2 separate regions of the Homo sapiens genome follow, and region 1 is linked to region 2. Evidence: promoter capture Hi-C in human tissues and cell types (Jung and others, 2019). All regions are on one chromosome and are shown on one strand. The core of a region is centred on a gene start or on the middle of the fragment in contact, and the rest is flanking DNA. Distances in the headings are between cores, read along the strand shown. Region 1 overlaps FAXC (failed axon connections homolog, metaxin like GST domain containing). Region 2 holds the start of FAXC (failed axon connections homolog, metaxin like GST domain containing).

Region 1 (2,700 bases), core at 179-2,678, 51 kb after region 2:
AGAGGAGGATACACAACCCTTTGCTTAGAGTCGGGGATTTATGTCCTTCCTGCTTTCATCCATAAGGAATTATAAGAGCTGGGACATCAGCAAAGAGACAGAGTGATGGTGGTATTGGTGGCCAGTGAGGAAGGTGTCGAGATAGTTCATATGAGCCGGAAAGAGATAAATTTTTGTGTGTTCTTTCAGAAAATCTTATTAAAAATTAAAGGAGTATCTAGTTGCTTTCTAGAATGAAATCTGAAGAGGGATTAAATTAAGGAGCTTCTTCTGGTATTTTCTCCACCCACCTTTATTTTTTCCCAGAATGTGAGCTAATTGGCGATCGTGAGCTAATCACAATCTATATAGTGATTTTAGAGTATGCTTGTAGTATGAAAACAAGGGCTTTGTGAAGGAAGTGGCTTGTCTTACATATTATTTCTGACAAAGTGGGGTCTGATCAGGAGTGTAAGAGAATAGGGAGTAGATTTTATTTTTCCTGTAGCTTTGCCCTCTGGGAGATTCACTTGCAGAAAAAAAGTTTTAAGTGTGTGCATTTAAGTGTGTGCTCTTTGATGCTTGGATAGTGAGATTACCGTGACCTCCTGTTTCATTGGGAAAAGCACTCAAAATCTTTGTTTCTTAATTTTTCTTCAATTTCTAGTTAATGAAAGGTGAGAGAGGGACAATTAGAAGTATGAATAATGTCCACATTGATTTTACTATAATTGCCTGCTTATAAATCACATGAGTGCTCAGGTATAGGGAGCCCTATGTAAAACACACAATTGTACTTTATGTCTTAGACTCATAGGGAAATGAGTCTTGGAAAATCTTTTGATTATTCTCTTTAGTTTCTCCCTTGAACTTATATTTTATAGCACAGCCAGTCTTGTCTCTTTTGTCACTTATAGAGTTTGGAAATTTAGCTAAATTGTGGAAGTGGAGCTGACAGTGACCAGTGGGAAGTGGGAAAAGAATTAGGGAGGAAGGAGATGAGATTCAGAAGTTCATTTCTGTAGTGTTTCCAGTGGTCTGAAATAAACTTTCTGTCCACCATCTCATAATGATATATATGAAAACAGGTGATCAGTTTTTCCTTAGAAGTATGTTAGTGGAGACTAGGAATGGGTGCTGTGGTAGAATAAATATGGCCATAATTTTTTTTTGTGAATTCCAGAGGAAAGAACTGAGATGCATGGTGGAAGTTCTAAGGAGACCATTTTGTTTCAGTATAAGGAACCATCTAAGCACAGAATAGTCTGCCCTACCCAGTAAATTATGGGAGAGAAGTTTCAGCAGGGTTGGGGTTGGGGATGGGGAGTATCTGGTAGGAAAGTGTGAGAAGGGATTCCTACACTTGGAGAGAGGTTGAACTGGTTCTGTCCACATTACTTGTTTTGATTGTTGGAAATGAGTATAAAAGAATTCCTTATGTTAGAATAGCACCTCCTAGCTTGCAAAATGCTTTCACATTATTATACTTTTTAATCACTATTATAGCTCTCCATTTTGAGAAAGGACAGAGATCAAACATAATTAAGGCTATCATAACCTTAATTGATGGTTCCTATGTGATAGGTACCAGATGGACAGAAAAGTAAAATAGAAGTTTACTTGCCCTCAAGGTGCTTAAAAATTATTTGAGGAGATAGGACCTACACGTAGGTAAGACTGCAAGATGGCTGTGTGATTTACCTAATGTGTGAGCTAGACCAGTGGTTCTCAAAGTGTGCTCCCTGGAGCAGCAGTATCAGCATTACTTGGGCTCTTGTTAGAAATGCAGATTCTTGGATCTCACTCTGTACCTACTGAATCAGAAACTCCTGGGATCAGGGACTTGAGTTAGTGTTTTTAAAAAGCTTTCAAGGCCAGGTGTGGTGCTGTATGCCTGGAATCCCAGCACTTTGGAGGACAAGGCGGCAGGATCACTTGAGCCCAGGAGTTCAAAACCATCCTGGGGAACATAACGAGGTCTCATCTCCACTAAAAAAGAAAAAAAAAAAAAAGCCTTCCAGGTGATTATACTACATGCTCAAGTTTAAGACCAATGATATACTCTAGCCCAGTACTTCTTAAGCTTCAGTGTGCACAAGAATCACCTGGAACAGTGCTATTCACAGTCTGGTCCAAGAACTGCAGACTATCCTGGTGATTTTAATACCTCTAAAGTTTGAGAAACCCTGACCCGAAAGCTTGTTAAACACAGGTTCTCTAGTCCCATTCCCAAGTATTCTGATTCAGTGATGGGATCTAAGAATGTCTAACTAACACTCAGGTGCTGCTGGTGCTGCTAGACTACTCTCTCAGTAGCCTCGCTCTAAGCAATTCGCCCCTCTGGGATTTAACAGAGGCGTGGACAATGAGAGGTTCCAGTAGACTGGGACCGTGTGGGAAGCCTTCATGCAGTGGAGGAGGTAGGACTTGGTCTGAGTCCTAATGGAAAGGTCAGGCTTAGATAGCCGGAGTTATTTGGGGCAGGGAGGATAGGATGAGCACCTGCATGTTTGACTGAAGTAGACCATTCATAGGAGGTAGAGCTCGGTTTGTCCTGCCCAGGTCTGGAGAGCATCACACACTGTCAGCTCTCATACATCCTCCCCAAGGGGGCGGCTCAGAGCCAGGCAGTGAGCAAACAGCCTAGGATTGTGAGCACTTCCTCAGTTATGCTGCGTATGGCACCCCCTCCCCCACTGGAACTTTCAGGGGCATGTGGCT
Region 2 (2,910 bases), core at 368-2,867:
GAATTGTAGTCAGTGGCTTTCTGGGATAAAAATACTACACTTCCTCTGGGTTCTAACTTGTTTTGGGCATAAGGTTTGTCAGGATTGACTCTCCCTTTTGCCTTCCATATTCTTCCACTTAAGGTAATTTATGCCCATCCCCATGTCTAGACCTAGATATGCAAATAATGTGATCCCAAATATCAAACTTATATTCTTTAAATATTGGCTCAGTGTTCACTGAGAGCAAAGACTGAGTGCTCTGTGGGAAGGGCACAGAAGGAGCATGGAGAATCCCTGGTGCCAGCCCTCCTTGTTCCCTCTTCCAGAGCACTGCAGCTTTGGTCCCAGACTTAACTACTCTGCTTCTTGCCGACAAGGCCAGGCAGCCTTCTGGCCTCTCTCCTTGAAAGACCGGCTGGTGACCACCTCAGTCACCCCAGGAGGCCGTTGGGTTTCACTCCTTGCAACCTACTTATGGGAGCCTCACTTAGAACCACACACATTACTTCTTCCTGGGAGGTCACATTTTCCCAGGAGTGTTTGGGGAGTCTCACATGCTGGTGCCTAGGCATCAGCTGACTAGCCCCTCCCCCCGTCTCGTTGAGGCGACACGTCCATATTTATTATTTATTAACAAGACGACCACACTCCTTGCCTGTTCTAAGGGGCGGGTGTGTCAGGAGAGGAAAAAAAGGGGGAGTCCTTTTGCGCCTCAATCTCTGCTCCATAGGCAAGAGCCTGGAGGTTTCTTTTACCCATCCTTCCACCTTGAGAGTGATGAACCTCCACGGCCCGAATCCTTTTTCAGTTCTTCCAAACAATTTAAAACTATCCATGCTCTTGTTAAAATCTGTGCATATATTACAAGCTTCTATTCTTTGTACTTATGAACTTTAATAAATGAAGTTAAAGGAAAAAAATACACTGAACACACACACAGTTGTTAGACAGATTTTCTAAAACAAAAGAGGGACCCCCGTCCCCCAACCGAAACCCTGTATCAGCGAGTTCCCTGATAGTGACTTCAAAGAGGAAAGACTTGAACTGGGTTTGTCAGAGAAATCTCTCTAGGTAGAGTATTTTGTTATTTGCCAAACCAGACATCTCGTCTCTGCGAACACCTGGTCAAGCCCGAGGTAATTGTGTAATGTAATAAGAGTGTTTTTATACATTATGCAAATACGCAGCGCTTTCCTGATGGCCAGAACAATCTGATTCCCGACTTTAATCCTGGCCCACGCTCCCAGCCCCCGCCTGGTGGCGTCTCCTGCCCGCAGCTCCGCGCCGCCCCAGGTGAGTCCTGCGCGTTCCCTACTCTGGGGCCCGCGGGAGGGGCTGGAGCGCAGGCGGAGGGCCGGCCGGGGTAGGGGAGGACCGGGATCCGGGCCCCGACTGCAGCTTCCTCGCGGTGGGGCCGCATTTCCAGGCACCTCCGCCGCCCTTGCCCGCGCGCGGCGAGCGGTTTTTGGGCGTGCCGCCCGGAGGCGCGGAGCCTGCCCGGCGCGCCTCAGCCCTGCAGATCCGGCCCCGGCGGAGGCGGCCGGACCGCGGAGATGCGGGGAGGGGGCAGGGCGCGGGGTAGGTGACTTTATCCCGCCTCTGTTTCCCTGCCCCGGGGAGCAATGACATCACGCGGCCTTCTCCAGGCGCCGACACAAAGAGCGGGGCGGAGAGGCAGCTGCGGGGGGAGCCGGCGGCCGCTGCTGCCGCCCAGGGCTCTGGGGCCCCGCCGGCCAGGCCCGCCGTCCGCGGCCAGTGCCCTTCCTCCTCCTCCTCCTCTGCCGCCGCCTCCTCAGTCGCCGCCGCCTCCTCAGTCGCCGCCGCCCGCGCCGCCCGCGCCCTCCGCGCGCCTCTGAGCCCGCGCCGGGCCGCGCCGGCCCCTTCCCATGCGGGCGGCGCGGGCCCTGGGAGGGGCGCCCGGAGCCAGCCGCGCAGCATGCACTGGGGGGTTGGCTTTGCTTCGTCCAGGCCGTGCGTGGTGGATCTGAGCTGGAACCAGAGCATCTCCTTCTTCGGCTGGTGGGCCGGGTCCGAGGAGCCCTTCTCCTTTTATGGGGACATCATCGCTTTCCCTTTGCAGGATTACGGTGGGATCATGGCAGGGCTGGGCTCCGATCCCTGGTGGAAGAAAACCCTTTACTTGACCGGGGGAGCTTTGCTGGCCGCAGCTGCGTATCTGCTCCACGAACTCCTGGTCATTAGGTGAGCCGGAGAGAGGGCCCCGCACAGGGGCGCAGAGAGGGGCACCTGGCTAGGGCAGGGCTGGCGCGAGAGGGGCCCGTGCCAGCCCCTCGGTCAAGCTGCCCAGATGCCCAAGCGCCCTGCAATTACCTTTCCCTAAAGGCATTTGTGGTCACCTGGCCGTGAGGGGCAGTTTAGAGTTGAAAGGAGAATTAAACCGGTGCTGGGAGGGAAAAACATTTGTCTCCCAAAATGCTCTGGGTCACTTGTCGTTATCTATTAAGAAATGGCCTTAGGAGGATCTAAGTGCAGTGTGTTTGCAACAATAGAATTGGGCCCTGCAGAAATAGGTTACACTTTTATGAAATGCCTTGTTTATAAGTAATAATGCTGGAATATTAACTGCTAACCTTATCTTTTACCTAAAGGTTAGTTCTTCCCTAAATGTCAACATCAAAAGACTGAAAAATTGCAAAAGCTCCAGAAACCTGCGGGTCCCTGTTAAAGATGCATGACCAAGTGTAGTGGTGGGCAGCTTTGATGCAGCCTTAACCTGGTTCTCTGCTTATCTGGTATTGAACGCCAAGCACCATCTTCAGGCTTAGATGTCATTGTTGTGTGAGCAGTAGGACAGGCTAGCACATGGGTGTGTTGGGCACAACACGGAGTCGCCCAGTGCCGTAAACAGTTGCATCCGCTGCCGCAGAATGTTTACAAGATTGAGTTGGAAATACCAGAAAATGGAGG

Evidence for each region. Contacts are between HindIII fragments. The study calls those that stand out against the background at their distance.
Region 1: a fragment that was not itself captured here is called in contact with the fragment with the promoter of FAXC in region 2 in 2 of the 25 tissues and cell types used here (adrenal gland and pancreas).

Annotation. Positions count from the first base shown.
Region 1 is chr6:99,297,521-99,300,220 of GRCh38, reverse strand. All of the region lies in intron 4 of FAXC (failed axon connections homolog, metaxin like GST domain containing), which reads left to right. Among named protein-coding and RNA genes, the nearest start is that of FAXC, 51 kb to the left of the region's middle. The HindIII fragment of the contact is 6,995 bases long and covers 1-2,700 here.
Region 2 is chr6:99,348,381-99,351,290 of GRCh38, reverse strand. It overlaps FAXC (failed axon connections homolog, metaxin like GST domain containing), which reads left to right and starts at 1,617. Exons shown (of 6, transcript NM_032511.4): 1 at 1,617-2,184. The coding sequence starts at 1,919. RefSeq lists silencers at 1,268-1,347, 1,408-1,457, 1,528-1,587 and an enhancer at 2,779-2,910. The HindIII fragment of the contact is 6,681 bases long and covers 1-2,910 here.